Linked DNA regions of Homo sapiens: all the other regions are linked to region 1. The links are contacts of gene promoters, found by promoter capture Hi-C in human tissues and cell types (Jung and others, 2019). All regions are on one chromosome and are shown on one strand. The core of a region is centred on a gene start or on the middle of the fragment in contact, and the rest is flanking DNA. Distances in the headings are between cores, read along the strand shown. Region 1 holds the start of EBF2 (EBF transcription factor 2). Region 2 overlaps LOC107986933 (a long non-coding RNA gene). Region 3 overlaps LOC107986933 (a long non-coding RNA gene). Region 4 overlaps LOC107986933 (a long non-coding RNA gene). Region 5 overlaps LOC107986933 (a long non-coding RNA gene). Region 6 overlaps PPP2R2A (protein phosphatase 2 regulatory subunit Balpha).

The links. Contacts are between HindIII fragments. The study calls those that stand out against the background at their distance.
Region 2: a fragment that was not itself captured here is called in contact with the fragment with the promoter of EBF2 in region 1 in 2 of the 25 tissues and cell types used here (H1 embryonic stem cells and heart right ventricle).
Region 3: a fragment that was not itself captured here is called in contact with the fragment with the promoter of EBF2 in region 1 in 1 of the 25 tissues and cell types used here (H1 embryonic stem cells).
Region 4: a fragment that was not itself captured here is called in contact with the fragment with the promoter of EBF2 in region 1 in 2 of the 25 tissues and cell types used here (H1 embryonic stem cells and neural progenitor cells).
Region 5: a fragment that was not itself captured here is called in contact with the fragment with the promoter of EBF2 in region 1 in 2 of the 25 tissues and cell types used here (bladder and mesendoderm cells).
Region 6: a fragment that was not itself captured here is called in contact with the fragment with the promoter of EBF2 in region 1 in 1 of the 25 tissues and cell types used here (bladder).

The regions. Positions count from the first base shown.
Region 1 is chr8:26,043,273-26,047,035 of GRCh38, forward strand. EBF2 (EBF transcription factor 2) reads right to left here and starts at 2,141. Exons shown (of 16, transcript NM_022659.4): 1 at 1,457-2,141. The coding sequence starts at 1,587. RefSeq lists a silencer at 61-355. The HindIII fragment of the contact is 15,996 bases long and covers 1-3,763 here.
Region 2 is chr8:25,630,396-25,634,158 of GRCh38, forward strand. All of the region lies in intron 1 of LOC107986933 (a long non-coding RNA gene), which reads left to right. Among named protein-coding and RNA genes, the nearest start is that of CDCA2, 170 kb to the left of the region's middle. The HindIII fragment of the contact is 3,835 bases long and covers 62-3,763 here.
Region 3 is chr8:25,658,247-25,662,009 of GRCh38, forward strand. All of the region lies in intron 1 of LOC107986933 (a long non-coding RNA gene), which reads left to right. Among named protein-coding and RNA genes, the nearest start is that of CDCA2, 200 kb to the left of the region's middle. RefSeq lists an enhancer at 1,752-2,438. The HindIII fragment of the contact is 3,456 bases long and covers 2-3,457 here.
Region 4 is chr8:25,679,140-25,682,902 of GRCh38, forward strand. The region is part of intron 1 of LOC107986933 (a long non-coding RNA gene); the gene reads left to right. All of the region lies in intron 2 of LOC105379333 (a long non-coding RNA gene), which reads left to right. Among named protein-coding and RNA genes, the nearest start is that of CDCA2, 220 kb to the left of the region's middle. RefSeq lists an enhancer at 395-968. The HindIII fragment of the contact is 3,399 bases long and covers 1-3,294 here.
Region 5 is chr8:25,742,964-25,746,726 of GRCh38, forward strand. All of the region lies in intron 1 of LOC107986933 (a long non-coding RNA gene), which reads left to right. Among named protein-coding and RNA genes, the nearest start is that of CDCA2, 290 kb to the left of the region's middle. The HindIII fragment of the contact is 6,087 bases long and covers 1-3,763 here.
Region 6 is chr8:26,309,051-26,312,813 of GRCh38, forward strand. The region is part of intron 2 of PPP2R2A (protein phosphatase 2 regulatory subunit Balpha); the gene reads left to right. Among named protein-coding and RNA genes, the nearest start is that of PPP2R2A, 19 kb to the left of the region's middle. The HindIII fragment of the contact is 4,201 bases long and covers 1-3,716 here.

The DNA.
Region 1 (3,763 bases), core at 891-3,390:
GGGTCTCCCAGGTTGAACCCCGGTGCGCAAGCACCTTCATTCACTCTTTTGAAAGGGGTAACATTTTGGCTAAGCTCTCCCCCACTAAGTCTGCTCCTTCCAGCTTCAACAAACTTTTTGATCCCGGGAAGGAAGGAAAGCGAGGGAGGCGTCTTTAAGGAGCCCAGCTAAGGAAATGCGCGGCACAGTTGGCTCTGCGGTGCTGCCTTATTTCCCTTAGCTCGCAGGCGGGCCAGTCCCGAAGCGCTGCGGAAAGCCGCGGCCGCCGCGCTGTGCGGTCTGCCGGAGGGAAATCCGCGCTCCCCGGGCCACAGGAGGGAGGGAACCGCCGCCGGCCCAAGTCCCGGAGCGATAAAACTTCTGCTTTCTCCGCTCCAAGGGTAGAGGCCGGTTCGCTCTACCCGGGACACCTGGCCAGTTTGGGAAAGGGATCATTTCTCCGTGTGATGTTGGCACTTAAATGTGGGTGGCCAGGAGGGCAGCAGGGGAAGCGAGGGTAGTGGAAGAAGTTCATCGGCTCTTTGGGGGTAGAAGGGCTGCCTCTCTCGCAGACAAGGACCTGGAGGCCACAAATCCCAACTCAGTAGTGGTGATGAGAGAGTGGGACCGTAATGTCTTCGTAGGGTGGCACCCCGGACATGGTATTTACTATCCCAGCACGCAGACGCCTAAACACAAAGTCAACTTCAGGGATCCGCAAAACCAGAGGCTGGCGATCCCTGAGCCAGTCTAGCTGCTGGTGGCCTTTTCTCGCCTCTTTCTTCTTCCGCAACTCTTTCTACTGTGACTCAGTATTTTCTCTTCTTTTAAATCTCTTCTTTTCTCCAGTTCCCTAGCTCCGTTCGTCTGGCTCACTGTTTTATCTTTGAGCCGGGACCCTCCAGCCTGTCCCCCCTCCCAGAGCTCCCGGCCGCCTCGTCTTCCCGGGCAGCCGCTCCGGCTTTTCCCGCTCCCCTCGCCGCCGCCACCCTCTGGCCGCCGGCCTCCCAGGCTCCAGGAATCGCCCAGCAAGATGCGGGAGGTAGGCGCTCGCAGGCGGCGTGGCGAAGCCAAGAGTGGCCAGGAAGCCGGCTTTCCTCCCGCGCCGCCACTGCCAGCGCCGGTGTTCACGCTCCGTTCGGGGCCAGGCCGGCTCGGCTTGCAGGACTAGGGGCTGAGCTGGGAGATGTTGGGGGCTACTTTATTTTTCCTTGCAAAGAGTGGACTGTGGTAAAGGAGAGGGAGAGAAACGCCTACGACCCAGGCAGTTCAGGAACTCGAGTGCCGGCTGCCGGGTGAGCGTTCGCCTGACTGCAGCGATCTGCTTGCCCGAGGGCGAGCCCCAGCGCGCAGGGCCTGGGCGACAGATGGGGGGACAGGGAGAGAGAAAGGCACGGGGTGCGCGGGGGGGGTGCACACGGAGAGACAGACCGTAAGAGCGAGAGACAGCATAATAATTGCGCGGCCGTGTCGTTACCTCTGCGCGGCGACATTAGCGTCCACCACTCCGACATTCCGGACCCAGGACCTGACCGAATCCATCTCCGCGCCCAGCGATTTCTCTTTCAGAGTTGGTCCTCTTCCTAAAGTATCTTGAATTCCAAACATTTAAAAAGTCTGATCCTCTACTGTCGCTTTAAAAGTAAGAGTTACAACACAGTCCTGACTGTTCCCAACGTTGCCAGCAAATCGTCTCCTCCAAAGCAATCCAAGAAAAGGGATCAAGTGCCCAAGTTTGAGTCTTAGAAAAAAAAAAAAGATAACCCGTCCTTTGCTTCACTGGCGAGGTGCGGACTGATGTAGTCAAAGTTTGGGTTCTTATCCTCCGCAAGTTCAGATCTGCCGCCTCAGCCACTCCACCCTAGGTCGCTCGCATCCTTCCAGCTGCAGTGCTGCCTCCTGAAAGTGATCACAATTTAGAAGCATCACCTGTTCTGGGAGAAACTGGAGGAAATTGATGGCTGCCTAATCTCTCCCCTTCCTCCAGGTCCCCCCTCCCTGCTCCTCCCCACCGTTCCAATTTAGAAAAAAAAAAAATCCCCAACAGGATCAGTTGTAAAAAGAAGGGGAAGACCTGGAGCCGAGAGGAGGCGGTGGCTGCGAGCGCCACGGAGCCCGGCTGCAGCCGCGCGCGGGCCCCATGAATGGGTTACTACGGCCCTGGCTGCGGGAGGCGGAGCTGCGGCCCGATAAGGAGCCTCATTTGCATGGACGCGCGGGATTGGCCGGCGCCTGGCAAGCCGGGCCGACGTCCTCCGGCGGCGCGCGCCACGCTCTGCGTTGCCGGGACTCCGGGAGGTGAAAGGGGACAGAAAGCTGCGGGCGTCGAGTCCTAGCACGAACCCCGTGTGCTTGCGCAGGATTGGGGGGCCCCCACACCCTGCACTGACTTAGGGTAGCAGGTCTCTGCGGGCTGGGGACGCAGGGGTTCGGCCTGGCTGCGGGAAGCCTCCCTGGATCCTGCCTCTAGATGTAGGCTTTTGTAGCCTGCCGGGAGGCACGTTCGTTCCCGGGGTTCGGATCTGTGTGCATGCTTGTGAGCGTGGCCACATGTGCTTATGTTTTGCGCAAACGTCCCCCAGAGCACCCAGCTCCCTGAATGGCTCCCCAGGTCTCCTGGAGTTCCATGGTGATATCAGATGTTGTGTGCGGCTTGCACGTTGCTGAGAGTGGAGAACATATGAAAGAAGGCGGGGGATGGGGTGGGGCGGACAAGCGAGGGGCAAGTGCTGCTCAAATACAGTGCTGGGGAAAACGGTCCAGGACCTAAGGAAAACACCCGCGGGCGGGCGGGCGCGAGCGGCAGTCGCACCCGTGTGGAGGAGAGGTTGCTGACAGATCGAGGCGGGCTGAGTGCGCGAGCGGCCGGGGAGTATTCCCGCGGGTCCTCCGGTTCCCTCCCCACCTCTCCGTTCCCGAAGCCCCCGGTAGTGGGCGGGGAGGGACGGGGGAGTCGTGGAAACTTCGCCCACCGCGCGCGGTCGCCGCGGTGCTGGCCGCGGGCTGGTGGCCGGCAGGCGGTGGCAGCAGCCTCACCGAACAGCTGAAACCCTAGACGGTTTTTTAACTGCGCGGGGCTGCTCGCGGTGCCTATTAAACATCCTCCTGGCTGGGTGTCATTTTCTTGCTTCTCCTTTTGTATTCTGATCTGCGCATAGATCTGCTGCTGCTGAAATCTAGAACACCAGCGCGAAAACAGATTTGAAGACAATGAATGCAAATCTGTGCTCAAAGACCATCTGCCGTGGAGGAGACAATCAGCTGTTCGTAGTTCGAGCGATTGCGCCCCAGTCTCCCGGTCTCATTACGGGGAGGGCATTTGCGAGCGCCTGGACTGCGTTCAGGGCACTTTCTCCCCTCTTGGGTCTCAGATTTGAGAGACCAGATCCCTTAGGTGTAGGTGAGCGCTCGCAAATGAACTGCTAGAGTTTGCCGCTAGAGGACACAGCGCCTTGCAACTGGTTTGCCTAGGCTGACAGGAAGCTTGCACTTCAAGAAAACTCGGCTCTCTCGAGAAAGGGACCGGTGCGCGCCTCCACCTCCCCAAGGGACAAACCGCGGCACCACGCTGCGTGCGCGGGATTGCGACTAGGAAGTGCTGGTCCGAACTGCGGAGATTCGCTTGAAAACGGATAGGGGGTTAGGGAGTTTGCGGGGCGGGTGCACGGACCGTCTCTGCACAGGCCCCGGGATCCAGGGACTGGGGTCATTGATTTGGGGGAAGGTAGAGAAGGTAAACCCCCCGCCTCTGGGTTGTGTTGACTGTGGTACCCCGACCCCAGAG
Region 2 (3,763 bases), core at 729-3,228, 410 kb before region 1:
CAATTTGTGCATCCATAGACTGAAAGGATTCAGCTGGGTGGCTCTCTCATTGTGTTTTCATGCCTGTTAAGATGTCAAAAATACTTGGTTATATGACTCTCTTTGCTTCGTTTACTGAAAGGAGAGGCTTGGGAAAGGGTCCTTTCCCATTTTTCTTTTACCCTCGGAATAATAGCCCCTTCTCAGGACGAAGGCTCTCTAAAGCCCTATTCTCTGAAGTATATTAGAGAAGGAAGTGTAAACATAAGATCCTTTTGGTATTTTTATTAAAAAATAAAAACAAAACCCAGGATGGGATAGACTTACCCTTTTCTCCTCTGAGTAATTAACTTGTCTCTCCCCTACATGGGGACAGCAGACCCAAGTATTTTATACTTCTCTTATCTCATCATTTCAAGCTCAGAGTTTTCTACCACTGTTATTTCCCAGTCTCTCTTTGGAATCTATAATGATAGGAATTCTTCCGTGCTTACTCTGTAGTCTGCACAATGTTTTGCAGCCCAAAATAGATGCAAAAAAGTGTGTTCCATTGACTCGTGTTGAATCATATAGGTAAAAAAACCAAGATACTTGTCACCACCTTACATTTGGGGAAACCAAGGCAAGGAATGGGAAAGTGACTTCACTGACGTGCAAAATAAAGGCTAGGCATGCTAACAGAGCTAAAGGTTTCCATCTTAAAGTCCTCGCTGTTCCCCACACGATGATGATGACAGTTGCATGTGTGGGGAGCGACAAACACGCTTTGCCAGGCCCACCAGATGGGCTTGGAAGCCAAGTCAGAGAGAGGCATTTCACTCTCCACATGTAATCGGCATTTACCAGCATTTGCTTACAACAAGAAACATTAAACAGTTTTCCACATTTCCTCTAAATGAATGGGACTCCGCAGGAAAACCCTAAAGGGAAGTGTCTGAGAAATCGGTGGCAGAGGAATTTCACTATGAGGAGAGCGAGCCAGTTCATTCTGTTTGCTTGTTAATAAGTTCTGTGTCGCCAGCTCCAGGGGGAACGGCCTCTTGAATAGCTGGCGGGGAAACGCATTCAAGGGCTCTGCTTGATGAAAATAGGGAATAACGGGAAGGGAGAGGAAGGGAAATAACTTCAGAAAGGATTGGAAAGCTTGTCCTCTGGAATGAAAACAAGCTGCTGCTAATTTGACTAAGTTACTGCTGAGTCTGGGTGCGAGCTGAGCGGCAGCTGAGCCGTGCAGGAAGCTGCAGCCCTGCTTTTCTGGCTCCTCTTTGCAATTTATATGCAGCCAATGTTACGTCTCATTCTTTCAGATAAGGCTGCATTTAGAATCCAGTGTGTTTCAAAAGACAAGCTGCAGAGGCTGGGGTGTGTGTATGACCTGGTTAGAGAGGTGGTTGATACTGATTGTGGATCAAGAAATAGATGAGAAATGTTTCCCTATGTGAAGCATTATCTAGAAGCAATACATGGCCGTGTCGCTCTCCTTAAGGAACATTCATTTGATCATCTTGATGCAGGGCAGGTGAGCCCCAAAGTGGGGCTTAGCCCACGAGGTTTCTTGGCTTCACCCAGGAAAGAATTTAAGGGTGAGCTAGTGGTAGGGTAGAAGAAAACAGTTTTATTCAAGTGGCAGCGTTACAAGTCCATGACTGTTTCCTGCACAGCAGGGCTGCCCCGTTGGCAGTGTGTTGACGGTAGCAGCTCAGGGTAGTTTTGCAGTTATATTTATACCTACTTTTAGTTACATGCAGATTAAGGGGCAGTACATGCAGAAATTTTTAGGGAAGGGGTAATAACTTTTAGATGTCAAGTCATTGCCATGGAAAGGGGCAGTAACTCTCAGATGTTGCCATGACAATGGTAAACTCACATGGCACACTGGTAGGTGTGTCTTATGGAAAACCACTTCCACCTTATCCCTGTTTTAGCTAATCCTCAATTTGGTCAGGTGTCCGAGCTCTGCCTCTGGAGTCAAGTCCTACCTCCTGCCTCAATCTGGCCAACAAATATTTATATCTGTGCTGTCCTGGGACGTGAAGCCAATTGAGTTGTGTACCTGGTTCTCAAAGACACTGATGAAGACAGAAAATAAATAGAAAATCATGATACAAGATATATGCCGTTCAGGGTACAGATTTGCATAGGTTCTTAAGGAAGGGGTACCTGTCCCAGGCTGAGGAAGATGGAGAAGGCAGGGTATGGAAAATCTGCCTAGAGGATGGGGTTCCTGAAGGAGAATTAGGAGTGAGTTAGCTGGTTTTCCTTCCACAATAAAAGGTGTGAGATTTAAGTACTCTGGGACCCACTGAAATTGTCTGCAAATTGGTGTGTTATGTTATGTTATGTTGTGTTATGTTACGTTATGTACATCTGCCTTTCTCCGGAGGGGACACATAACTTATCAGATTCTTAGAGGCCTAAGACCTTTTCTATCCCTAATTAATGATTTATGTTAACTGTGCAATACTTCTGAATATTTTACTGATGTCCAAATAATAGACATTCTATTTTCGTTTCTATGTGTATATATTTGCTTCTATATGTGTGGAACTATAGCAAACATTTATGTAGTTAAATCTTTGTGCACGTGTTTTCTTTTTAAATTTTAGAAACGTTATTGCGTCATCAAAGTATGTGAACACTTTAAAAACCTTTGGGTACATATTGTCAAAATTCCCTCTCCAAATTTATACAGGCTTATTACCAACAGAGGTGGAGTACCATTTCCCTGAACTCTTGCCAATGCTATTTGTATTGCCTTTTAATTAAGAAATATTTTAAATATAAATTGATACAGAAAATAGATGCCTATGAGCTTATTTACCTATATTTAATATATATGACAATTTGCCATAGTGTTTTTCATATCTTAATAAAGAAATAAAGTGTGTGTGATAGGGACAGCAGAAGCCCACTCTTTCCTTCCCATCTCATTCATCTCCTTCCCTCCCCCAATACCCAACATTTTTTCCTTTTCTTTCCTTCCTTTTGTAGAGAAAGGGTCTCACGATGTTGCCCAGGCTGGTCTTGAACTCCTGGGCTCAAACAATCCTCCAGCTTTGGCCTCCCAAAGTGCTGGGATTATAGGAGTGTGCCACTGTGCCTGGCCCCCAATATATATGTTTTTCCTAATCACTATACTACCGGGGATTGGCCCCCAAGGGTTTTTAAGTGGATATTTTCATACTTTTACCACTCACAGATGTCTCCAACAATATATAATAATGTACTTCTTAAAATAGCTATCATACTGAGCATAGTTATTGTAATTTTCTTTTTTCTGAGACAGAGTCTCTTGCTCTGTCACCAGGCTGGAGTGCAGTGGTGTGATCTCGGCTCACTGCAACCTCTGCCTCCTAGGTTCAAGTGATTCTCATGCCTCAGCCTCCTGCGTAGCTGGGATTACAGGCGCCCACACCATGCCCAGCTAATTTTTGTATTTTTAGTAGAGATGGGGTTTTGCCATGTTGGCTAGGCTGGTCTCGAACTCCGGACCTCAAGTGATCTGCCCACGTCAGCCTCCCAAAGTGCCGGGATTATAGGCGTGAGCTACCGTGCCCGGCTGTAATTTTCTTTAAACATTGATTTTTACTTTCTTCTAAAATGTTTTATTTGCTTTGCTTTTCCTTTGCTTCTCCCGCCTCTCTCTCCTACCATTCCTTGGACTGAACAGCTTTTGTTAGTCCCTCCTTCACCTCTATTGGTTTAGAAGTTATACAGATAATTTATTTCTACTCTTTTAGGAGTTATCCTTAAAATATTTTAAACAGCTTTATTGGGATATAAT
Region 3 (3,763 bases), core at 480-2,979, 390 kb before region 1:
GGTTTTGAGTGAGTTGCTTAATCCTGAGTTCCAGTTTGATTGCACTGTGGTCTGAGAGACAGTTTGTTATAATTTCTGTTCTTTTACATTTGCTGAGGAGAGCTTTACTTCCAACTATGTGGTCAATTTTGGAATAGATGTGGTGTGGTGCTGAAAAAAATGTGTATTCTGTTGATTTGGGGTGGAGAGTTCTGTAGATGTCTATTAGGTCCACTTGGTGCAGAGCTGAGTTCAATTCCTGGGTCTGTCTCATTGATCTGTCTAATGTTGACAGTGGGGTGTTAAAGTCTCCCATTATTATTGTGTGGGAGTCTAAGTCTCTTTGTAAGTCACTCAGGACTTGCTTTATGAATCTGGGTGCTCCTGTATTGGGTGCCTATACATTTAGGATAGTTAGCTCTTCTTGTTGAATTGATCCCTTTATCATTATGCAGTGGCCTTCTTTGTCTCTTTTGATCTTTGTTGGTTTAAAGTCTATTTTATCAGAGACTAAGATTGCAACCCCTGCCTTTTTTTGTTTTCCATTTGCTTGGTAGATCTTCCTCCATCCTTTTATTTTGAGCCTATGTGTGTCTCTGCACGTGAGATGGGTTTCCTGAATACAGCACACTGATGGGTCTTGACTCTTTATCCAATTTGTCAGTCTGTGTCTTTTAATTGGAGCATTTAGTCCATTTACATTTAAGGTTAATATTGTTATGTGTGAATTTGATCCTGTCATTATGATGTTAGCTGGTTATTTTGCTGGTTAGTTGATGCAGTTTCTTCCTAGCCTCGATGGTCTTTACAATTTGGCACGATTTTGCAGTGGCTGGTACCTGTTGTTCCTTTCCATGTTTAGTGCTTCCTTCAGGAGCTCTTTTAGGGCAGGCCTGGTGGTGACAAAATCTCTCAGCATTTGCTTGTCTGTAAAGTATTTTATTTCTCCTTCACTTATGAAGCTTAGTTTGGCTGGATATGAAATTCTGGGTTGAAAATCCTTTTCTTTAAGAACGTTGAATATTGGCCCCCACTCTCTTCTGGCTTGTAGAGTTTCTGCCAAGAGATCCGCTGTTAATCTGATGGGCTTCCCTTTGTGGGTAACCCAACCTTTCTCTCTGGCTGCCCTTAACATTTTTTCCTTCATTTCAACTTTGGTGAATCTGACAATTATGTATCTTGGAGTTGCTCTTCTTGAGGAGTATCTTTGTGGCATTCTCTGTATTTCCTGAATCTGAATGTTGGCCTGCCTTGCTAGATTGGGGAAGTTCTCCTGGTAATATCCTGCAGAGTGTTTTCCAACTTGGTTCCATTCTCCCCATCACTTTCAGGTACACCAATCAGACGTAGATTTGGTCTTTTCACATAGTCCCATAATTCCTGGAGGCTTTGTTCATTTCTTTTTATTCTTTTTTCTCTAAACTTCCCTTCTTGTTTCATTTGATTCATTTCATCTTCCATCACAGATACCCATTCTTCCAATTGATCACATCGGCTCCTGAGGCTTCTGCATTCTTCACGTACTTCTCGAGCCTTGGCTTTCAGCTCCATCAGCTCCTTTAAGCACTTCTCTATATTGGTTATTCTAGTTATATTCATCTAAATTTTTTTCAAAGTTTTTAACTTCTTTGCCTTTGGTTTGAATTTCCTCCTGTAGCTTGGAGTAGTTTGATCGTTTGAAGCCTTCTTCTCTCACCTCATCAAAGTCATTCTCCGTCCAGCTTTGTTCCATTGCTGGTGAGGAACTGCATTCCTTTGGAGGAGGAGAGGCGCTCTGCTTTTTAGAGTTTCCAGTTTTTCTGCTCTGTTTTTTCCCCATCTTTGTGGTTTTATCTACTTTTGGTCTTTGATGATGGTGATGTACAGATGGGTTTTTGGTGTGGATGTCCTTTCTGTTTGTTAGTTTTCCTTCTAATGGACAGGACCCTCAGCTACAGGACTGTTGGAATACCCTGCCGTGTGAGGTGTCAGTCTGCCCCTACTGGGGGGTGCCTCCCAGTTAGGCTCCTCGGGGGTCAGGGGTCAGGAACCCATTTGCAGAGGCAGTCTGCCTGTTCTCAGATCTCCAGCTGCATGCTGGGAGAACCACTGCTCTCTTCAAATCTGTCAGACAGGGACATTTAAGTCTGCAGAGGTTACTGCTTTCTTTTTGTTTGTCTGTGCCCTTCCCCAAGAGGTGGAGCCTACAGAGACAGGCAGGCCTCCTTGAGCTGTGGTTGGCTCCACCCAGTTTGAGCTTCCTGGCTGCTTTGTTTACCTAAGCAAGCCTGGGCAATGGCGTGTGCCCCTCCCCCAGCCTCGCTGCCGCCTTGCAGTTTGATCTCAGACTGCTGTGCTAGCAATCAGTGAGACTCCGTGGGTGTAGGACCCTCTGAGCCAGGTGCGGGATATAATCTCCTTGTGCAGCATTTATTAAGCCCATCGGAAAAGTGCAGTATTAGGGTGGGAGTGACCCGATTTTCCAGGTGCCGTCTGTCACTGCTTTCTTTGACTAGGAAAGGGAACTCCCTGACCCCTTGTGCTTCCTGAGTGAGACAGTGCCTCACCCTGCTTCGACTCGCGCATGGTACACTACACCCACTGTCCTGCACCCACTGTCTGGCACTCCCTAGTGAGATGAACCCGGTACCTCAGATGGAAATGCAGAAATCACCCGTCTTCTGCGTCACTCACACTGGGAGCTGTAGACTGGAGCTCTTCCTATTCAGCCATCTTGGCTGCCTCACTATGCCATTTTTAAAATTATTTTTTGTACAGACGGGGTTTCGCCATGTTGCTTAGACTGGTCTTGAACTCCTGAGCTCAACTGATCTGCCTGCCTCAGCCTCCCAAAGTGTGGGGATTTCAGGTGTAATTATGCCATTTTATATCAGGGACTTGAGCATCTTCAGACTTTGGTATCCATGGGGTTCCTGGAACTGATCCTCCACTGATACTTAGGGATGACTGTACTCTGTTTTTTACTAATGTATTTGTTCATCATCTGTGTCTACCACAAGAATATAAGCTTCATAAGAGCAGAGAGTTTGCGGCCTTTTGTTCACTATTGTGTCCCTGTGCCAAGAATAAAGGAAAGAATACAGGAACCCTCTCACCCCTGCAAATATTTTTCCAAAGATTGTGTGTCTTACTGGTTTCTCAGACTGGTTTGTGTTTTAAAACTATCTATATTTAATTCTTGTTTTTAAAGTGTCTGTAGTTGACAGTTCTAACAGTAAAACATTTTAAATTTTTATGATTGATTACAGCTCCGTGTATCTTTTCTTTTATTTTTCTTTTGAGACGAGGTCTCAATCTGTCACCCAGGTTGGAGTGCAGTGGTGTGATCATGGCTCACTGCAGGCTCAATCTCCCCATGCTTAGGTGCTCGTCTCACCTCCTGAGTGGCTGTGACTACAGGTGCATGCTACCATGCACAGCAAATTATTCCCTATACCTTTAAAAGCACTTCTGCACAGGTCACCTCTTTCTTTAGTTTCCCTCTGTAAAATTGGATAATAAACCCTGTTTCATGGCACCATTGTGTGAATTAACTGAGATGTTGTATGTTTTGCATGCAGTAGGTGCTTAATAACACCAGTTCTTATTATTTTGCATCTGAACATCAGAAAAATCCTTATAAGAGACACAGAGCAGGATAATAAATTATCCACATCTTTTACATGAAATAACTACAGTCAGAGGTGTTAAATGAGTTGCCCAAAGTCACCCAATGAATCAGTATAGGCAGCGGCTCTAAACTATTGCCTTGATGGAAACCCTTATTCTTGGTTTTTATTTATTC
Region 4 (3,763 bases), core at 345-2,844, 360 kb before region 1:
CTATAGAGCACTAATTCCCATAACTTCCTTCAAGGAGATGTTAACTCAACAAATACTTAATTGAACATTAATACATACCACTGGGTCTCTGGTGTTGCTTATTTTGTTTTGTGATTACTAAACCAGTACCCCTGTATTCAGGGGATGCAGAACATAGAGGAAAGACAGGCAATCCTAGAATTTGTCTCAAGCCAGCTGTGGCAGTGATGTAGGGTAGCTTACACTTCCAGTGTATTCTTCATTTGCTTTTCTCTGATATAAAGTCTGGAAAGATCCGAACACGCCTTCCAAATTCCCCAGCAGTCTGGAGTGACTGTGTTCTGGCTGCAGTTGTTGTCGGTGAAACATCACAGAAGTGAGGCCTCTTTTCTTCTTTCTTCCTCCTCCCTGTTGTGAGTGTGGGGCTTGAGCTTGGCAGCCCTCTCCAAGGCTGGAAGAGAAAGAGAGGGGAGAGCTTGGTTCCTCGGTGCACACTCCAGCCCTGGACTGCTATGCTGATATTGCTTTGTGAGAGAAATAAACCCCTTATCATTTCAGCTGCTGTTTGTTTATGGGAGCTTGCAGGCTAAAGCAGTCTCAACTCACATATCTGCCCTCTCACAGGAGCCTTGGCTGGAGGGATCTTACTTCACTTACATTAGCTCATGAAGCCCATCTAGCATGATCTACATTACAATGGACAGTCTAACCCCCTCCCCGCAGGCATGGGCTGGCAAACTCTAGTTATAAGAGGATCTTTAATTAACAGCAAAAATCACATATGACATTATTTAATAGGCAGACAAGAAATCAGGGATGAATACCACTTCATTCACAACTGGCAGATTCCTTTCTCACTAATCCCTTTCCGCTTTCCATTTTGCTCCCCCCGTGACCCCAGCCTTCTAGCAGAAAATACTCCATTTACCCCTGAGCTGTCGACCTGTTTTCTTCTGCTCCTCTTCAATGTGGCCTTCTTATCTCATTTACCTTGCTCTTCTGTTTCCAGGCCCCCTTGCCTCCTGTGATGCATTTTAGTGAATTGTCTCCTTATTGGTAGCCTGGCTCTATTCTCACTCTCCAAGTCACACAGTAACTCTAGTAAGAAGGGACCAATGCTACATTTCCACAGAAATTGGGATCAAGTGCAGGAAAATACAGCTAAGGAGGAATGATTTGCTCCTGGGAGTAGGAGCTTTGGGTTGGAGAAAGCTTTGTACGGGATTTAATGTTTACATCGAGATGCGGAGGGGACAAAAGGATTTTTTTTTTTTTCCCTCAGAGAACAGAAGAAATAAATTCCAGAGGGAGGAAAGAGTGCAATCTAGATACAGGTGGGTGGCATTTTTGGGGAGCACTGCATAGTCTCTTATAGATAGAGACATGAGGAAGTGGTGTGAGAGTCCCTAAATATGAGGCTGGAAAGAGATATTTGGACCAGAGTTTGAAGAAAACAGAGAAGCTTGAAAGGGTTTTTTTTTTTTTTTTTTTTTTTTTTTTCACAGGTGAATGGTAACCAATCAAATCCTGGAAAGGAAACTAGACAGTGTTTTAATCAGGGAGAAGGAAAGGAACTATATTTAATAAATATAGTTTATTTTCTTTAAATTCACAGATCAATTTTCTTCTTACAATAAGCCTTGATGGTAGATAGATAAAATATTACACTCTCATTTCATAGCAGAATGAAGAACAACCAGTCAGGTAACTACGGGAGCAAGTTCACACCAGAAATGACTGGGGGCTTGGGCAGGGCAGGAGCAATGAGGATGGAGAGGAAGAGATGGATGACAGCTGTTTCAGGAATAAAGCCAATAACAAATGGAAACATTAAAACATCAAGTGGGCTAGTGAGGAAAGTCCAAGATGGGCATGAGCAAAGTCTCAGTGAATGAATTAATAAGACAGAGACGTGTTGTAGAGACAACCAGCAGGACCTGAATAGAGCTGATAGGATGTAGAATGAGTCAGATTAGGTGGGGCTTGATGGTGGTCCCTGCTGTCAAATGTTGCAGATAGGTCAAGGACATGTAAAACTCACAGAAACTTAATGGAGAGATTCTGCAACCTTTAGAAAGCACTCTTCACAAATAGGGCAGAAGCTAAATAGGAAGTGTCTGGAGAGTCAGTGGAAGGTAGGAATGGAGACCAGGCATGGGTGTAGCCTTATTTTCAGCACGTCTGATGGTCAACAAAGAAGAGATGCTGTGGAAAGTTAAGCACATGTGTGAGGGAGAGGGATTAAGCCTGAATAAAGGCCCTTTGAAGGGTTGGAGACCTTGTTGAGAAGTTGAAAGACTGCAAGGTGAATAGAAGGGGAGAGATCCCGGGTACAAGAAGGAAGGGAGGATAAAGATTCTCTGCATTTGTAGAGATTGTTACAGTTTATACAGTGCTTTTGCATTCAATGTCTCATATAGGGATATGTGGGACCAACATCACCACCCATTTGATAGATGGGTAAACTGAGGCTCACAGAGATCAAATGACTTTATTAGAGAGGGGAGACCGAGGATATGAACTCAGGATGCCTGAAACTGGTTAGGATTTTGTTGTTTGTTTTTATTCGTTGCCTTCCACACGAGGGAAAACATGACTTGAAAAACTACCACTTAAGAGTAACACATTTTTGTGGAGAAACACTCCCATTCATTGCCTACTTTGAATTTTCCACCACAATGACCCTGTGAGGTTGGCAGAATCAGCTTTTTTCTCATTCCATTGATAAGCAAACGCAGCCTCAGCAAGGCCAAGCAACTTCCATGATGCCACATAGCTAAGAAATGGCCAAGAAGGGCCTCAGACTCTCATCTTGACTCTTAGATGAACAGTCCGGTCGACAATGAGGCTTCTCCCTGCACTTGTGGATGAGAGGACAGCCTTTCAGCAGTGTGGCAGATAAACAGTGCATCTCCCCCATATTTCTGGTTCTCTGCTCCCTCCTGGAACCTGGAGGGTTGTATATTGCCATGCCCTTGGGTTAGGCATGACCATCTGACTTGCTTTGGACAATGCAGCATGAGCTGATGTGCAGTTCTTCACAGTCTTGTCTTCTACTGTCTGGGCTATTTTGGAAGAGAAAGGGATGGAAGCTGCTGGAATGTCAACTAACACCAGGAGGCTAGCTGCCTGGAAAGTTGCCTAAACCTGGAGCCAACTTTGAGTGAGTGAGAAATAAATTAAAATGCCTGATATCTGGAGATTGTTACAGCAGCATGATCTAGTTTATACAGTTGAACACCAACAAACTCTTCCCAGTGTAAAAAAAGAAAAATCCCAGTGCCTCATAGATAACCCTATCCCAAAGAGACAAGCATCTTCCCAGAATAACTGGGAAATAAACATCACTAAGTCCTTCTAGGAGTTAAAATGCCATCAGGACTTTTTTTTTTTTTTTTTTTTTTTTAAGGTTCTATTGGATGTTGAGTTTTTATTATGAGGTTGAGTTGTGAGCTTGAGGAGAAATTGTTTTTACAGATGTTCAGGGTGTGTTATGAGGAAATGGCCTTTTACAGGGGTTCAGATTGATGGGCTCTCTAGGGACCCCTTCTGACTACATGCGCAGAGGAAGTAGGGAGGGGCCTGAAGAGGCACAGAAGGACACCATGGAGTTTGAGGAAGACCAGGAAAAGGGGGTGGCTGAGTGATGAACTAGAACAAGATTTGGAGTCACATAGACTTGGGTAGAGTCCTGGCCAAATCACTTAACCTATCTGAGTCTTAAAATGGTTTTCTATACAATGGGAAAAATGATACTTGCCTTATAGAATTATAGTGAATTTAG
Region 5 (3,763 bases), core at 846-3,345, 300 kb before region 1:
TGGTGACCTGAAAAATCTTTCTTGAGACCCATGTTTTTTATATGTAGAATGAGATTGAGCCAGATTATCACTAACTTCCTTCCCAACCCTACCACCAAATAACAGCACTTCTACCGACATCCTAGGAGTAAGGCAATCTTGAATTTATAAAATATTCTCAGGCTCAGAGAGCCGTTTTAGAAATCAGCCATGACACAAGGAAAGGACCTTGAGTTAGGAGAGCTGGACTCAAGTTTCACTTCAGCCACATTCTTGTCATCCCTAAGCCTGAATGTCTTCCTCTACAAAATTAGGATAATAATTTCCTCCTCTACAGACTTATTGTACAACACATAGTCCATACATCTGCTTCCTTTTGTCACTGATGTCCTCTTCCCCAGAGGCAACCACTTACAACTGAATTTTTATTTTTTGTGATATTTAGCTCCATATATCTAAATAGCTACCCATAGTGCCATTTCTTGACTTCTTAGTTTTAGGCATTATATGACCTACCCATTAAGGAAGATGAGATCTTAGCCATTTCATCCCCATCACTCTACTAGTAGCAAAAGCATGCACAGTTATTCATGTTTCCATTCTCCCAAAATAAATATATATTTTGGCTAGATCTATCATCAGTGCTTAAATTGAGTACATAAATACTGTTCACAGCTGAGCCACATAGAATACTATTATTTTTTCCTTTCTTGAACAAGCATTTGTTTTCCCTAGATTTACTAAGTGTTTTGTTTTGTTGATGTACTGCGTTTTCTATGGTCTTATCTCTGATTCAGCCTCAAATTCTCTTTCAATATGTCTCAATGCATTAAGTATTTTTAGCAATTGTATCTACTTGGAAACATTACTGCAGAAACCTTCTTCTCTATTTAGTTAGTTCCTGACCGTTGGTTGCAAGCCTATTGTTAGCTGCCTTCCTGGGGCTATTCTTTGTTGTATTCTAGGGGTTTCTTTTATTATATAACACCTCTCTCATATTGAATTCCTCATTACGTAAGCCCAGTGTCTACATCTTTATTAGCTGATCTTCTTGTTTTAAAAACGGAGCAACTTTTCTAGTACCCTTCAGTAAACGTGTATATGTTGAGAACTTACATATCTGAAAACATATTCAGCTTATCTTTATCCTGAGTTAATAGTTTGATCAGTTATAGAGTTTAGGTTGGAAAAAATTTTTCCTTATTATTTTGATGGCATTCCTCCAGTCTTAGTGTTAAAATGTCCAGGGCCATTCTGGCCCGTGAATACTCCTGATTTTTCTTTTTAGAAGCTTTTAAGATCTTCTGTTTTTCCCAGTGTTCTAAAACTTCACGGTGGTGTGATCACAAAAATAAATGTTTTATTTATTGTGCTAGTGCTGGGATTAAACATATTCTCCAGTCCTGAGATTCAGTGAGCCACCTCTTGGTAGCTACTTTTAACTGAGTAGTTTAACGTTCTTCTTCCATGATACTGAAGACACACTTCTTTTAACAGCTGTTATGACATTGTTTTTTAGTTAGTTGTGTATATCTATACCATATAGCATTACAGGCCCCATTATGGAAACCCAATGGAGTTCTGTTGTATAAATGAAAAACAATTACTTATGATCTTCTGCCTGCATGGGCATAGAAGCAAAATATGTAATATGAATGTGAAAAATTAATAAATTATATTGAATTTTTAAAACATACCACTACAGAGAATTCACAGTTTGCTATACATTCTGTAGCTTTTTGTAATCCATGAGTTAGTCATCAACAGGAACAAATTCTGAACTGCCTTTTGTAACCACTTGAAACTTGAAAGGAGAGAAATAAAAATGGTTTGAGGTTCTGGAGGTTTCTAAATACCTTCAAAACCCCATTGTTTGTGACAGTCAGGATGTTTATGATCAAGGAAAAAGGGAAGTGTTCTGGAGACATGCCCTATTTCCATATTTGTGGTGCCCAAAACAAAGATAAAAGTGGTGGCCCACATATGTCTAAATAGTTACAATTTATAACCCAAGCTTTAAAAATATTAAACAAAATTTGCCCTAGCAGATTTGGAAGGCTAGGTTGCATTTTAGAGTTCTGGGATTTCTTGGCAGCCCTGGAAGAACCAACCCTCAGCCACCAACTTGGCTCTCTTATCTCCTTACCTTCCCCCAGATATTTCTGGTCTTTGTGGCACCCTGTTTGCACATATACAGACACATTAACATGATAGCCACATGGCCAAGCTCCATTCACATGCTCTGCAAATAACTGCCCTTTGACCACCCCTTGGGGAAAGGATAAGGGCATTGGTGAGTCAGTTACCACTTGGGAGGACAGTCATGGGTCAGAGGCTGTACATGCCCTGGAAGTGAATGAGGGGCCATTTGGGAAAGGAATTCCCATGGAGAGTAGGCATGTCACCTTGGCTCTGGGGACTCCTCCACAGGACAAGGGCCAGAAAGGACTCCGCCAAGTGCAGAGTACAGGGCACAGTCACCTCGTGACTGAGGCTGAAGGTGAGACTCCCAGAGAGTAAGAGAAACCTGACTGTGATCCTTTGGTCAACTTATGGCAAATCTGAGAAGGAAACCCAGGTTGTTCTAAAGGATTGCTTTGGCGTCTAACTGCCTCCCCACCTCCATGAGCAATTCCATTAACCAAAAAGGAAGGAACTGAGCAAGTTCAGTCCTCTTACTTTTATTTTACATTTTAAAAAATAGCGATGGAACATGATCCTTCTTGATAACTTATACTGGTCCAGCCTAGACCATAAATCAGAAAGTAAATGTCTTGTGGTTTGAGGTAAGGCCTAAGCTGACGTTATCCTCCCTTTTATGAAGCCTCAGAGGCTCATAGGCCCAGATTTAGTCTCGGTGGTTTGCATATTAAAAACTGGTTTCTTTCTCTGGGTTTTATGTTACCACTTCAAATTCCTCTAGACAAGAAATAAGGGAAATGGTGGGAAAGCTCAAAGTACAAAGGGTACCCACCCAGGGCTCCAGGAAGGACCCTCAGTGAGACTTTGGAAGCTCAAAATACCTTTGCTTCTGATAGACAGACTTATGAACCTGGAAGAAGTTAAATTTTTTATTTCAAAAACTTTCTAAATAACAGTGTCTTAAATTTAAAGTCCTTCCTCCCTCACCCCACCTCTAGCTGATTTTGTTTTGCTTCAATATTCATAAAGCACCTGTAATTGTTTACATTTCTTCTACTCTTTTTTGCAAGGCCCCAGGAATGCAAAGGGAAAACACACCAACATAGGCAAGCCTTGGGGTAATTTTTAAATAGTCACTGCTCTTTCAATGCATGGTGTTGGGTCATTGCTTAATAAACAATATTCTTTCTCAACTCCTACTCCAGCTCCATTTCCATATACTTTACATTAAGACTGGAAATAAATCAACTGCTAATAGTTTAGCTCCCAGGGTGAGTGGGATGCTGGGTCAGGATGTTCTCTCTCAATGGGAACAAAGGGTCAGCCAGGCAACAGCCTGAATGTTGAAGTCTTGTTTCCTTGCCTCTTTCTAGCAGTTCAGATTTTGGGTTGGGTCTTAGAATCTGTTTCTCCTAGTTGCTCCGGTGTGTACTTGGCATCTCATGGTGATTGACTCTATCTGATCTTGGCCTGCACTCCCCTTACCCACTCAGCTCTGCCTTCACACCCATATCCATCCCATTAACTGGCTTGTTCCTGCCCTTTGGTAGCCATGGTAGTGGGACAGCCCACCGCACACTGCTCAGATTGGTGGCTGAGAAAGGACATTGCCCACCTCTATGTTAGAATAAGGAAATGTTTT
Region 6 (3,763 bases), core at 366-2,865, 270 kb after region 1:
GGGTTTCAATGTGTTGTCCAGGCTGGGCTTGAGCTCATGGGCTCAAATGATCCACTCACCTTGGCCTCCCAAAGTGCTGGGATTACAGGAGTGAGCCACCATGCGCAGCCTATATTTCTTTAATAATGCTAACAATTGTCTTGTAAGTCAGAATCACGCCTTGATCCATGGGCTACAGAATGAATATTGTGTTAGCAGGCATGTAAACAACATCTCCTTGTCCCTCTCTATCAGAGTTCTTGGATGAGCAGCAATATTTGGAAATGAGTCTTTTTTCTAAGCAGTAGGTCTCAACAGTGGGCTTAAAATGTTTAGTAAACAGTGCTATAAACAGATGTGCTCTCAGCTAGGCTTTTTTCTAGAGTACAGGCAGAGTAGATTTGGGCCCTAGAATTCAGAATGGTCAATGAGCATTGGCCTCAACTTAAAGTCACCCAGCTGCATTAGCCCCTAACAAAAGAGCCTGTTCTTTGAAGCTTTGAAGCCAGGCATCAGCTTCTCCTTTCCAGCTATGAGAGTCCTAGGTGGTATCTTCTTTGAATACAGGGCTGTTAATACAGAGCTGTTTAGTTGACTTTGAAAATCTGTTGTTTAGTGTAGTCACCTTTATCAATTAAATTATCTTCCTTTCACTTGAACACTTAAGAGGCCCATAGGGTAATTGTCCTAATTTCAGTATTGTGTCTCCAGGAGGCCCAAGGAGGGAGAGAGAGAGGGGAACTGCCAGTAGGTGGAGCAGTCAGAACACGCAGCATTTTTAAGAATTACATTTGCTGTCTTATGGAGGTGCTTCATGGCATTCCAAAACAATTACAATAGTAATATCAAAGATCATTGGTCACAGATGACCATAACAGGTATAATGATGGAAAAATTGAAGTTTTGCAAGAATTACCAAAGTGTGACACAGAGACACAAAGCTAGCACATGTTGGAAAAATGGTGCCATTCGGCCAGGCGTGGTGGCTCACCCCTGTAATCCTAGCACTTTGGGAGGCTGAGGCGGGCGGATCACGAGGTCAAGATATCTAGACCATCTTGGCCAACATGATGAAATCCCGCCTCTACTAAAAATACAAAAATTAGCTGGGTGTGGTGGCGTACGCCTGTAGTCCCAGCTACTCGGGAGGCTGAGGCAGGAGAATCATTTGAACCCGGGAGGCGGAGGTTGCAGTGAGCCGAGATCACACCACTGCACTACAGCCTGGGCGACTGAGCAAGACTCCCTCTCAAAAAAAAAAAAAAAAAAACACAGTGTCTATGAAGCACAATAAAAGTATGCCTGTATAATCTCGCAATTTTTATATTATATCTGTTAATATTTGGGCATAGATCTTTCCAGCATATAGTTCTTTTTCCACAGCAAATATGTATTTTCAAAACTGTTATCAGACGTACAGTTTTGTATTATGTTTTTTTCCAGTTAACATATATGAGAAGATAAATGGCTGTATGATATTTAATTGGATCTCTAATGTATTTCATTTAGACATTTAGATTGTTTATAATGTTTGCTATTGTAAAGATCATGATGAACATCCTTGTGAGAATCTTATTGCTTTAGGATATATTATCTGGAAATGGGATTGCTGGGTCGAAAGGTGTGATTTTTTTTTTCCTTTTTTTTTTTTTAATGGCTTATGGTATTTATTGCCAAATCACCATAGAAAGTTGGTGTTGATTTTTCACTTCCTCCAATAGTGAATGGGAGTGGCCATTTCCTGACCTCTTGACAATACCTGGCACAATATTCACCATTCAGAAAAATCTTTTCCAGTTATTTGTTTGAGCACGTTCAAATGTTGGAGCCTTTTTGTGTTCTTTGTCTAGTTTTCTTTGGTGATGCTTTTTTAAATTTATTTGTAGTATCACAGCCCTTTTCCCCTTCTGAATCATACATTGTAGTGGAGGAATGTTGGAGGGAAGCTCAAAGAAATAATTTGGGTCTGTATTACATGGGAAAGACTTCCTAAATGAAGTGGATTTTTTTCCTTTTTCTTTTTTCTTTTTTGTTCAAGCAAAGGAAACCAGAGAGTAAGGAAACAAACATTTGAGAATTGCTGTGTTTTAGTTTTCTTATCTGTAAATGGGAATAATAGTACTTGTCTTTTTATTTAGAGGATTAAATATACATGAATGCTTAGTTTTGGCACATAGTAAGCCTCAGAACATTTAATTGATGTAGTTATTTTTCTATCTGATACCCAATTAACAGAATTAACAGTTGATAGCAGAAGAATAAAAGCCTATTCCGGTCCACAAATTGAGATCAACTAGTTTTTGAGGTTTTGGGCACATTTTAGGCACTTCCAATAAATATACGTTACATTAATGACTAACATTTCAGCTTGGTTGAGTTAGGCATTTGGTAAAACTAGGGAGAGATTAGTTTCCCAGCTTCATCAGAATTGGGATTAGTTTAGGGTCTGGCACTTTGACTATTAATTTGACTAATTTAAAATTATTGTGCTGAGCCGGGCACGGTGGTGCAAGCATGTAATCCCAGTTAATTGGGAGGCTGAGGTGAGAGGAGCACTTGAAGCCACGAGTTCAAAGCTGTTGTGCACAGTGATCATGCCTGTGAACAACCACTGCACTCCAGTCTGGGCAACGTAGCATGACCCTGTCTCTGAAACAATGAACGAAAAATAATGTGTGACAACAGAAATTCAAGCTTCTTTTTTTCTCTCTTGTTTTCCCTTTTTTCTCCAGTTCCTCCAGTGTTTTATTCTTCCCTATAATTATATATTCTGCATCTTCCCTCAAGAGTAATATAATTGGGTGGGGTGGGGTGCACCTAGAACATGCAGGAGGGTCCAAAGCACCCTTCACTATTGGTGTCAGTTTCTCATAGCAGGGAGGGATGGAGTTTGGGAACATCTGAAGGGATGGTGTCAGGCACACGGAGGCTCTAAAACACCCTGCTATTGGCTCCCCTTGCTACCTAGGGCAACGTTGTAAATAGCATATTTTTTACATTATAAATATTTTCTCTTTCTCCTCGTTCTTCTACTCACTTGTTTGTATGATGATCTGAATCTTTTATCAGAGTTTCAAGTAGGCTGACAAATATATTTAGAGCCCTTGGAAAATTCTCCAGAAGTCTGAAGAGAATAGAAATGGAAAGCAAATGTTATTATACCAGTGAACATGCTTAATTCCCCTCAATTCCTTATTCAGAAGTGTGCTGTTTTGTTAAAAGAGTTGTATTGGCCTGATAATCAACACTTCTCTAGCTTTATGTGCATGTGAATGTCCTGGGAATCTGGTTAAAATACAGATGATGATGGTGCATTTAGGTCTTGTGGGGGATCCTGTGATTTTTGCATTTCTGATCAGCTCCCAGTGATGCTGGTGTTGCTGCTGGTGGTCCCCAGACTATACTTTGAGTGGCAAGGCAGCTTATAGCCTCTCTTTAAGGGTAAGGGAGACCTAGTAGCTTAATTTTTTTACTCAGCATTTTTGACAGAATAAATAGATCTATTGTGCTGTTCTCACATCAGTTAACATTTCTTCTGTAAATGAATAAAATACCTCTTTGGGAGTTTTGCACTAGCTCTTAAAAGAGCAGATTGCATCATACTGCAACACGTTAGCCATCTCTAGTTGTTACTTTAAATTTGTATTTCAATTTCAAGTTTGGCTCGGTCTAAGACCTTACTATACTTAGCAAAGGTGTGTTTTTTGCTGGTAATTTGCCCTTAAATTTTTATCTTTGCCATTTTTCTGTTTGCTTCCTTACCCTTGAGGCACCTGTTCATCTC